3 separate regions of the Homo sapiens genome follow, and regions 1 and 2 are each linked to region 3. Evidence: promoter capture Hi-C in 16 types of primary human blood cells and fetal thymus (Javierre and others, 2016). All regions are on one chromosome and are shown on one strand. Each heading gives the region's core, a stretch centred on a gene start or on the middle of the fragment in contact. The rest is flanking DNA. Distances are from core to core; before and after follow the strand shown. Region 1 has its middle 15 kb from the start of GRID1. Region 2 holds the start of BMPR1A (bone morphogenetic protein receptor type 1A). Region 3 holds the start of CCSER2 (coiled-coil serine rich protein 2).

What was found. Contacts are between HindIII fragments. The CHiCAGO score rates a contact against its expected background, and 5 or more counts as called.
Region 1: a contact is called between a fragment that was not itself captured here and the fragment with the promoter of CCSER2 in region 3, in 1 of 17 cell types (naive CD8 T cells). The highest score is 7.5, in naive CD8 T cells.
Region 2: a contact is called between the fragment with the promoter of BMPR1A here and the fragment with the promoter of CCSER2 in region 3, in 1 of 17 cell types (non-activated CD4 T cells). The highest score is 6.0, in non-activated CD4 T cells.

The regions. Positions count from the first base shown.
Region 1 is chr10:86,379,526-86,383,391 of GRCh38, forward strand. No RefSeq gene overlaps it. Among named protein-coding and RNA genes, the nearest start is that of GRID1, 15 kb to the left of the region's middle. The HindIII fragment of the contact is 6,332 bases long and covers 1-3,866 here.
Region 2 is chr10:86,755,345-86,759,039 of GRCh38, forward strand. It overlaps BMPR1A (bone morphogenetic protein receptor type 1A), which reads left to right and starts at 1,275. Exons shown (of 13, transcript NM_004329.3): 1 at 1,275-1,575. RefSeq lists a silencer at 788-1,757. The HindIII fragment of the contact is 8,878 bases long and covers 1-3,258 here.
Region 3 is chr10:84,326,748-84,330,618 of GRCh38, forward strand. CCSER2 (coiled-coil serine rich protein 2) reads left to right here and starts at 1,842. Exons shown (of 10, transcript NM_001284240.2): 1 at 1,842-2,061. RefSeq lists a silencer at 1,606-2,335 and enhancers at 2,386-2,735, 3,783-3,862. The HindIII fragment of the contact is 12,289 bases long and covers 1-2,647 here.

The DNA of each region.
Region 1 (3,866 bases), core at 1,162-3,661, 2.1 Mb after region 3:
AAGAGATATTTGTACACCCATATTTATAGCAATGTTATTCACAATAGCTAAAGGGTGGAAGAAACCCAGGCGTTCATCAACAAATGATGGATAAACTGTGGTCCATCCATGCAATGGAATATTATTCATCCTTAAAAAGGAAGGACATTTTGACACATGTTCCAACATAGACGAACCTTGAGGACATTATGCTAAATGAAATAAGCGCATCACAAAAAGACAAATACTGGCCAGGCTCAGTGGCTCATGTCTGTATCCCAGCACTTTGGGAGGCCAAGGCAGGTGGATTGTTTGAGCTCAGGAGTTTGAGACCAACCTGGGCAACATGGCAAAACCCCATCTCAACAAAAAATACAAAAAAATTAGCCGAGCGTGGTTACACACACCTGTGGTCCCAGCTTCTCGGGAGGCTGAGACAGGAGGATGGCTTGAGCCTTGAAGGCAGAGATTGCAGTGAGCCAAGATCATACCACTGCACTCTAACCCGGGTAACAGAGTGAGACGTCATCTAAAAAGAAGAAAAGAAAAGACAAATACTGTATGATTCTCTCATAGGAGGTACCTAGAGTAGTCATATTCACAGAGACAGAAAGTAGAATGGTGGTTGCCAGGGTCTGAGGGAAGATGAGAATGGGGAGTTGTTTAATGGGGACAGAGTTTCAGTTTGGGAAGATGAAAAAGTTCAGGAGATGGATGGTGGTGAGGGTTGCACAACAATGTGAATGTACCTAATGCCACTGAACTGTATGCTTAAAAATGGTTAAGATGGTAAATGCTATATTATGTGTATTTTATCACAATTAAAAATAAAAATAATATAAAATCACACAAACCCTTTGCTAGGCCCTCTGTCTGCAGAACAATGGTCAAGTTCCACAGCACTTAGGCTGTAGTGAATTTCTGCAGGACCGGCCCCAGGCAATGCCCCCTGCCCTGAGAGCTGCGCCATCAAAACAACACGGGGCTGTAGCAGGAATGACCGAGGTCGTAGAAGACCCAGGCCCTGACTATGTCTGATTGGTCTGAAGATGGCCACCTACTCCAAACTAGCCAATCAGCACCCTCCTCCAGAATGCTTTAACTAGAATAAAGAGAATCCGGCCCTATAGGTGATGGGTATGTAAGATGTGAAGTCAGGCTAGGTGGGCAGACATGATCCCTGATGGGTGGAAGGAACCAGAGAAGCACAGGCAAGAGGTGGTGGCTGTTCCCCTGCCCTCTCTGCCTTTGCAGTGTGAGTTTCTGCCATGTGTTATGGTCACTGGCAACAAAAAGATTACTGGCTAGAACAGAAGCCCTCCAAAGGGCTCCCAACCCCAAAGTGTAAAACAATTCGGTAACACTAATGAGCCACGCTGTTTCCCACCTCTCAGCCCTTGCTGTTCCCTCTCCTAGGAATGCCTTCTTTCGTGGATGGCCCCCTAGAAATGTATGTGGCTTTTAAGATGAAGTTGAAACTCCATGAACCAGGAAGTCTTTATTACCTACACCCCCAACCCCATGTGGAAGTGACCCATCCTTGGGCCACCTGTGGCTGCAGCACCCACCATCATATATGTCTGTTCTCACACCTGCCTCCCCTTCTAGCTGGAAGAGTCGCAAAAGCTGAGACTCATCTTGTGTTCCCATTACCCAGGAAAGGGTCTAGCACCTAGTGGGTTCTCAATCAATGCTTACTGAATGAAGACGGAGATGCAAAGTAAATATCATCAACCCTCTTTTACAGAGCACACAACTGAGGCTTAATGATGTGGCATCCCAGATCAATCCCCTACAAGCTGTAGGCATCTCCTTGTCTGATCCTACCTCCCAGCCCTCCCCAACTGCTGAAATCCACCCACGTGACTTTAGAACTCCTGGTCAATAGGAAATTCACACCTGGATCCATCATAGTGAAACAGCAGAAAACCAAAGATACAGAGAAAAATTGTAAAAGCAGCTAGAGAAGAAAAAACAGATTTCTTAAACTGACAGCTGACTTCTCAACAACAGTACACACATAACAAGGCGGAAGATAGTGGAGTGGTAGCTTCAATGAGCTGAAAGAATGTTTCTACCCTAGAACTCCACACTAAGGAAAAAAATGTCTTTCAAGAATTAGGATGAAATAAAGATTTTTCAGGCAAACAAAAACTCTGAGAGTTCAATTAGAAGCAGACGTTCACTAAAGGAAATGCTCAAGGAGCTATTTCAGGCAGAAGGAAAGTGATCCCAGATGGAAGGACCTATGCACAGGAAAGAGTGAAAAGCAATGAGCATTTAAATGCATGGGTGAATATAAATGAACACTGTCTAGAACAGTGATGCCTATGGCATACAAAAAAATAAGAACTAAAATATAAGACAATACAGGGATTGTCTGGGGAATATGGCAAAAGTATTCATTAACTGTAAACTTTGGTAAATTAAGTATGCAGATTTTAATTTTGAAGGAAAACACATACACAAAAAAGGAGACAATAACTTTGGATGGAAAAGTGTATGATAAAGTACAGTGAAGTCCAAGAAAATACAGTTGAGCCCAAGAAAGCAAGAAAGAGAAACAGAACAGAAAGCCCAAAATAAAGTGATATTTTAAAAACAAAAATACATTAATAAGTATATTAAATGTAAGAGAATTGAATGCTTTAGTCAAATTGCAAATGTTAGTAAATTGGATTTTTTGTGAAAATCTAGATGTGACAAAAGTCACATTTAGGATATAAAAATAAAGAAATATTGAGAGTAAAAGGAATAAGGATAATGTGCCATGTGAGCATTAACCAAAAAAGAGCTACTGTGGCTATAGCAATATCAGACAAAGTAGACTTTAAGGCAAAAAAGTATTATTAGAGATAAAGAGGATTATTATGTGATGATAAAATATTTCATTTACAAGGGAGACATAAAAATGTTATACTTGTATGCATTTAACAACATAGTCACAAAATATATAAAGTCCAAAATTATATATCTACAAAAAGAAAGACAAATCCAACATCACAGTGAGAGAATTTAGCACAAGTCTCTCAGTATAGACAAGAAAAGCAGTAAAAAGCCGTCACAATTCAGGGAAGAAATAAACCATCTGTAAAATATTATTAACATATTTGATCTAGTGGACACATATAGAATGCTGCACTCAACAAGAGCAGACTACAGTTTCTTTTCAAGCATACATGAACATTTACAAAAAGATAATGTTTAGGCCGGGTGCGGTGGCTCATGCTTTTAATCCCAGCACTTTAGGAGGCCGAGACGGGCGGATTACCTGAGGTCAGGAGTTCAAGACTAGCCTGGCCAATATGGCAAAACCCCATCTCTACTAAAAATACAAAAATTAACCCACCATGATGGTGCATGCCTGTAATCTCAGCTACTTAGGAGGCTGAAGCAAGAAAATCACTTGAATCCAGGAGGCGGAGGTTGCAGTGAGCCAAGATCACACCACTGCACTCCAGCCTGGGCAAAACAGCAAGACTCTATCTCAAAAAAAAAAAAAAGATAATGTTTGATTGAAATAGTATTAAACATGATTTCTTTTTTTTTTCTTTTTTTTTTTTTTTTTTTTTTGGTGAGATGGAGATTTACTTTTGTTGCCCAGGGTGGAGTGTAATGGCACGATCTCAGCTCACCGCATTCTCCGCCTCCAAGGTTCAAGCAATTCTCCTGCCTCAGCCTCCGGAGTAGCTGGGATTACAGGCATGTGTCACCACGCCCGGCTAATTCTGTATTTTTAGTAGAGACAGGGTTTCACCGTGTTGCCTAGGCTGATCTCAAACTCCTGACCTCAGGTGATCCACCCGCCTTGGCCTCCCAAAGTGCTGGGATTACAGGCGTGTGGTGAGCCACTGCACCCGGCCATTAAACATGATTTCTGACAACAA
Region 2 (3,695 bases), core at 25-2,524, 2.4 Mb after region 3:
TAAACACCTCTTCAGGCAAGAATGTGTGTCAATACAAATGCCTGGCACATTGTTTTCCTTCCCCCTTTCTTTTTACCCAGTTTACCCAGTTTTAAAAGTGATTTTTTAAAATGCACCTTTAAAAGAACATCTTTTGTTAAGTGACTTAAACTTGATACATTTCTTGGATTACTAAGGAGGTTAAAGTCACATTTGGTGAAAAAGGGGCCTATCTCCTCTTTCCTCACATACGGGTCATCGAATACTTTTAAAAGCATTTTCCACCATGAATGAGGGGAAATGGAAGAAAAGAGGTGGTGACAATTATTTGCATTTTCCAAATGGACGGAATGAGCCTCCGGAGGGTACACGAGGTCACCAGCGTGAGCCCGCGGTGGAGCTGGAGGCGTATTTATAGCTGGCTGACCTCAGTCCTGTTGGGCCCTCGCCGCTCCTTATCTTATGCCGCTGGAATTCGCGGGCTCGCAGGTCACAGGAGCCCGGGCGCGCCGGGCCTGGCGCTCCCGAATCGATGAGGGAAGCCGCTCTCCCCGGCAGATCCTCCCGGCCGGGGAGCCTCCATCACCCTGCCTGCGCCTCGGCACGCTGGCAAGGAGCCCGGGAAGAGACGCCGGGAGCGGTGGGTGGGCGAGAAACAAATGCAATGTGACTTATATTTTTCTTTGTCGCAACTACCACGACCTGGCCATCCCCCACCTTGGTGACTTGGTGCCTTCCCAGCGACCTTATTTCACGCCAGCTGACTGGCGTTCACCGCAGTGTGAGTGTCGGCCGGAGGAGGGGTCCACGCGAAAGAGCCCGCGAGAGTGGGGATATCCGGCCCCGAAGGCCGGAGCGGGCGTCCAGGGCGCCGATGGCCGCAGCGCCCGGCAGCCGTGTCCACGCTCCCCTCCGCCGCGTTCCATCGCGTGCTACCTACGGCGTCTGCGGGAAGCTACCCGGGCGGCAGCTGTGGGGCTGGCTTGTGGGGAGGGGCCGGCGGGCCCGCGCGGAGGAGCAGCCCCGACTCCCGCCCGCACCAGCAGCTCGGCGCCCCCTTGCCGGCGGCTGGCCCTCCTCCCCGGCAACTGGGCGCCGGGCTCCGCGAACTCTTCGGGCGCTTCCGCCGTGCGCTCGGCTCTTTTCGTGTCCGGGGCGGGGCGGGGCAGGCGCCCGTGGTCGGGTGCGCGCGGCGCGGGCGGGGGCCTTCCCAGTGCGCGCGCGCCGTGCAAGGCCCGCGGACGCCCGCCCCTCCCCCAGGCCCCCGCACCCGCGCCGCCCCCTCCCCTCCTGGCAAGAGTCGGCGGCGGTGGCGGCGGCCGCTGCAGAGATTGGAATCCGCCTGCCGGGCTTGGCGAAGGAGAAGGGAGGAGGCAGGAGCGAGGAGGGAGGAGGGCCAAGGGCGGGCAGGAAGGCTTAGGCTCGGCGCGTCCGTCCGCGCGCGGCGAAGATCGCACGGCCCGATCGAGGGGCGACCGGGTCGGGGCCGCTGCACGCCAAGGGCGAAGGCCGATTCGGGCCCCACTTCGCCCCGGCGGCTCGCCGCGCCCACCCGCTCCGCGCCGAGGGCTGGAGGATGCGTTCCCTGGGGTCCGGGTGAGTTGGGAGTGCGCGTGCGGACCGGAGGGGCTGGCCGCAGCGGGGAGGCCAGAGGGGCTCGGGCGAGGCTGCAGAGGCAGCTGGGCGCGCGGTGGCCGGAGCCAGGGGCTGCCCGGCCCGGCCCCGGCAGCTCCGCAGGCCTCGGCGCGCGCTGGGCCGGGACCGCCCAGCCAGAGACCCACGGCACCCCGCGCCGCGTCCCCCGCCGGCCCCTCTTTTGTCTCCCACTCGCGGGTTGCAGGCCGAGTTTGGGGATGCGGAGTGGGCGAAAGTCGCTCCGGGGACGCTTCTGGAATCCTTAAATGGGAAAGGCGCTCACCTCCCCGCCCCGGAGCGGCGAGGCTGATATTTGTGATTTGGCTCCGGACGCTGTGGGGAGGAACAGGGGAGAACAAAATGAGTTTCGGGCGGGGGTCGAGTGAGAGGAGCAGCCGGCCCGCCCCCGAGTCCCCGCGGGAAGGGGCCCTGGCCCCCGAGCTCCCGGAGCTGCTTCACCTGTTGTCCTGCGCGGCCTCCGCTCCGTGGCCTGGTGATTCCGTACTTCAGTTTTGGAAAACTTTCTGCTGGATTGCCTGGACCCTTTTTTCTCTTTCCAGACTCCTAGTGGAAAGATTTGGCAAGGAAAAAAAAATGAGCTTGCGTCAGGGAAGAAAAATAATATGCTGTGTGTTAGGGTCTGGCGTTTGAGCGTGGTACTCTTTCATGCTCTCAGATGTTTTAATTTGGTCAAACTCCTGCAGGTTTTCTCTTTTAAGCGGTTAACAAACTGTTCAGAGTACATAGTATGAACTTGGCACCTGTGTTACGTCATTTAATCCTTACAACGATTCTGGTTTATTGTATTCCTCATTGTTTTAGGGGAAGAAACCGAGTCGCAAAGAGGTTAACTAACTTGTCTAAGGGAGCTGGGATTTGAACCCAGGAACATCGTATTCTGGCAAACGAATTAGGAAGAAAAAAAACCAAAACTGTTTGCAAACACTTTTACGTTTAGGAACATTTTTCAGTTACTCTTACTTGAAATTATCGCTATTTTGTTGCTGGAGTTGAAAACAACTACTTTATTGTATTTACTTGTGAGAGGAGTTAAACTTTGAATTAGAGTGTAACTTAATGCGTCTCATTGTTTTCAGTTGTTGAAATAAAGAATGTGAACCAGAATTATTTAGATTTTTAAATTTGAAGCTAAAATATGGGCAATTCTCTGATCTAGGAATGGGGTGAGTGTATGAAAGGCCGATTGAAATGTAGAATGCGTTTTTAGTAGAACCAGACTCAGTTCTTGTTTAATTTTTCCTCCATTTTCCGTGGAGCCCACTTTAAACTTTTTCTACTTTCTTCACTTCTCCCCACCCTTTACAGAAGAGGTTGAGGCACTTAGCAGGAGCTCCTTCATTAAATTCCTTCTGTTACTGGCTTCTTAACCTTCCGTCAAAGAGGGAGAATTTTTTTTTTTTTTTTTGTCTTTCTTATTAGTTAACACCTTGGGGTTTTTTTCCTTTCCTTCTAATTTTCCTGCTTAGTGGAGCGTGAGTTATTTTCTCTGTCGTATTTGGGTTCTTTAAAGTACAAATGTTCTTAAGATTTTTTCAGTTTACAAAAACCTTTTCTTAAGTCTGCTACTCCTTCAAGCTGTCTTGTTGCTGCTTTTCCTTTTCAAATCTTATTAACATTTTAAAAAGCTTGTTCGTAATAAAAGTAACACATGGTTGTTAATTGCGAACTAGCGCAACATTGAAATTAAAATTTAGTCATTCACAATCCATCTCTAGAGATTGCCAAGTGTAGTCTGCTTTTCCTGCCTTTGCCTGGTTGGTGGCTAGCCACTCATTTCTTAACCCCTTGTTATCTGGATTTCACCTTCACAAGGAACTATAACCTAATCAACACATTTAACTACCTTTTTCTAAGTCCTCTCCTTGAGTTTTCTGTAAGATTTAACATCGACTTCACATTTTCAGATGCCTCTCCTTGGGTTTCATTCATCTATACTCGCTGTATTCTAACACAGGGTCCAAGGCAGTAAGATACAACAGATCCTTCCCTCATGGAGCTTAAAGTCTAGTGGGGAAATACTTATTGAAAAATAAAGTCTCTAGTTAAATATAATTGTGATT
Region 3 (3,871 bases), core at 592-3,091:
AGTCTCAACCTCCTGGGCTTAAGTAATCTTACTGCCTCAGCCTTCTGAATAGCTGGAACTACAGGCATATGCCACTAAGCCTGGTTAATTTCTTTTTTTTTTAATAGACTAGGTCTCTATGTTGCCCAGGCTGATCTTGAACTCCTAGGCTCAAGTGATCCTCCCGCCTCAGCCTCTCAAAGTGTTGAGGTTACAGTCGTGAGCCACCACAACTGGCCTGGGCATTTTATTTTATTTTATTTTATTTTTGAGATGGAGTCTCACTCTGCCGCCCAGGCTGGAGTGCAGTGGCATGATCTCATCTCACCGCAACCTCCACCTCCCAGGTTCAAGCAATTCTCCTGCGTCAGCCTCCTAAGTAGCTGGGATTACAGGAATGCGCCACCACGCCCGGCTAATTTGTTGGTATTTTTAGTAGAGACGGGATTTCACCATATTGGCCAGCCTGGTCTTGAACTCCTGACCTTGTGATCCTCCCACCTTGGCCTCCCAAAGTGCTGGGGTTACAGGCTTGAGCCATCGCCTCCGGCCTGGTGTTTGCTTTTCTAATCTCACTTAATCCAAAGAGAGATTGCACAGCATTTAGACCTAGTCTTTGTCAATATTTTAAGCACACATTATTGTCCAATACATTAAATATCTTAGGGATTGATATTTAAAAGACATTATTTTCTAAATATGAAAGTGTATTATTAAATGAAGTGTGGTTATACAAATCAGGCATTCCGTCTGCTTTTTCCATTTGAGTATCATTGATCTGGAGACAGGAAAGAACTGGATATTTTTCAAGCAGTTCTCCTGAAATGTTATTACAACCGAGCTGTTGGGGCCGACGAGGATTTCAGAGAACTGCAAGTCTACAACCAGGTAAGGGCAACTCCAGAGCTTTAAACAGCCGGCCAGGCCCGGAAGCCTTCCAGGCTGAGGACTCTCAGCAGCAGGACTGGCCGCGTCGAGGAAAAACAAGAGGGGAAGAGATGGCCTCTGGGGGATGGAAGCCCCAAAGGGAAGAAAGACCTGGTTTCTGGCAAAGAAACCACATTGGCCAGGAGCTGTGGCTCACGCCTGTAATCCCAACACTTTGGGAGGCCAAGGTGGGAGGATTGCTTGAGCCCAGGAGTTTGAGACTAGCCTGTAAGACCACTTCCCCCAACTCTAAAAAGAAAAAATAAAAATTAGCCGGGTATTTGGGTCAACTTGTGATAGTTTACTTTGACTAGTGTGGTCTTAGTTGTAATTATTTCGGAGGCTTGGTGATACACGCCTGAGGCGAGAGGATCGCTTAAGCCCAGGAGGCTGCAAGTGAGCTGTGATAGCGCCACCGAACTCCAACCTGGGTGACAGGGCGAGACTCTGTTTCAAAAAAAAAAAAAAAAAGGGAAAACCAGATCAGCACTTGGGGTGCCCCTTCCCCTCAGCTTTAGCAAGATCCTGTGTTTTGATGCGGTAGGCAGGTGCGTGGTTCAGTCATGCCCAATGCTCAGACCACTCCTCACTTTTCACATCCAGGAGGAGGAGCTGTCAGGTTTGACCGCACTCAAGCAGCAAATGTAGTCCAGGGGACGGCTAGAGGTGAGGTCAGCCGCAAGACTGGCGTCACTGCGTGGGCCCAGCAAAAACCTGAGTCAGGAGGCGGCCAGGCAAGGTCAGTGGAGGGGGCGGGGCCCGAAGCGGAGGCGGAGCTTGGGAAAGCCTGGCGTGAGGGCGGGGCGGGGCCAGAGGTGGGCTGAGGCCGGATCAGGCGGTGGGGGCGGTCCCCGTAGCCCCGTGAGGCTCGCGCCTGCGCACGGGCCCGCGGCGGGGCGGGACTGCGCGTGCGCGGTGCGCCGGCCCTGGAGGGCGGAGTCCGGGCGGGCGCCGGCCGAGGGAGGGGGCGCGGCGGCTTTGGAGTCCGGCGCTCCCTCAGGCCGCGGACGCGATGCTGGTTGCTGCGGCTCGGGCGGCGGGGCTGGCGGGGATGTGACGGGCGGCCCTTCGTCTCACCTTCCGTCCTCGGGCCCGCAGGTCGCAGGGCGGCCTGCAGCTGGGCCGCGGCCGAGGAGGCAGCGCGACCTCCGCACGGTGAGATCCGGGCTCAGGGCCAGAGCCGGGGCCGGGGTCGCGGCGGGCGCCGGGGGCAGCCCAAGACCAGGCACGCAGTCCGGGGCGGGGCGGAGGCCCGAACTCCCGGGCTGAGGCGGTGTCGCCCTCCCGTACCCGGCCTCCAGGGTGAGCCTCTCTAGCCCCTCGCGAGCCGCCGGACGCGGGGCGGGCGCGGACCCGGGAGGCCGGAGGGCGCCCTCCCTGCGGCTGTGACAGCGCGGGGCCTCGGGCCGCGGGCGCCGCCGCCTTTCAGGAGAAATCAGGGCGAGGCTGAGGCACTCTGATTTCGGAGCCTGGTTGCGTGTGAGGGTGGATAGGGAAAGTACCGGGGCTCCCCGAATGAGTTCGATTTTTTTTTTCTTTCAATTACTGGGCTAAATGAAAGACACACCCTAAAACACATCCTGAGGTGAAACTTTGGTGGGGCACACCGTTGCCGTAGGTTCAGATCTTCTCTCTTGTCTTTAGACATGTATTTTCATACATTTTTAAATAATGCACCTACTTTCTTGATAAAGTAAAAGGAGGAATGAAGGGACTCCTTTGTGGTGGTCCTTGGTGGCGAAGCTTGTTTCCATTTCAGTAATTGCATATTCATCTGTGTGGGCTCCCCGACCAATGAGGCTGGCTGCTCCCAGACAAGGCCTTAGCGGAGTGGAAATGACTGACGCAGGGACTCTGGTCTCAGATTAGAGTGTTGGTAGCTCACTCCTGTAAGAGAGAAATTGAGCTTTAAGCTTTTTAAAATAGCCATATGAAAAGCATTCCTTTTCTCCTGAGCATTAAAATATGACGGAACCTATTCATTTGGCCAGTTGTTTTTTTTAAAGCATCATCTTTTAGACTAGAGACTTTAGAGATGGCAGCTGCTCTTTAACCAAAAGGAACTTAAGATGCTCTCCTGCAAAAGATGGGTTCAAAACATGTCTTATCCGTCATCCATATGTGATAAAAATGTAAATATTCCTGAGTGTTTGCCTGAAATCAGTCTTCTTCCTCTTGGACTTTATTACTGTTTCTCTTAATTTATGAAAGCTTGTTACTGTTATTTTTTGTTTTCGTTTGTGTTCTAAACAACATTGGCTTCAAATAATCTTCAGGTTAAAAATGCACACTTTGTTGAACCCTTTAGCCATAATTCATACTGTCGTACTTCAGCATAAGCCATAGTTAAGAAAGCACTAGAAGCCATCCTGAAAGCAAGCCGAAAGTCTCTATTAAGAATTCTGTAAAAATTCTACCTTTCCACATTCAGACCTGCATTTTTTGTTGCTTTGACTCAACTCCTTTGACTATTTTGGAGGAAGGGACTTTGAATCCATATTTACAAGTCCTTCAGTGACTCTCCATAGTCTATATCGATAAAATTCAAAGTCCTTCATGATTAGCGGTATTTGTCTCCATTCTAGTGTCATCTTCTACCATTATGCCTGCCCTCTCTATATAAGACTGTTGCAGTTCTCTGAAGATGACATCTTCCTCTGTGGTTTTTCAGTGTTCTTTGTTGAGAATTCTCTACCTAGTAAACAACTTGCCCTTGAAGACCTTACGAAAGTAGCACTTCTGAGGCTTGTCTAGACATTTCATCCCTCTTGTCTTAACTGATTCGTACACTCTCCAGTTAGTATTTGTCAACTGGTAGTTAATGATTTGTTTATGTGTCTGTCTCCACCAGGTTTTGGGGTTTCTTTTGTGTTTTTTGAGACAGAGTCTTGCACTGTGGCCTGGGCTGGAGTGCAATGGCCTCATCTCGGCTCACTGCAACTTCTGCTTCCTGGGTTCATGCGAT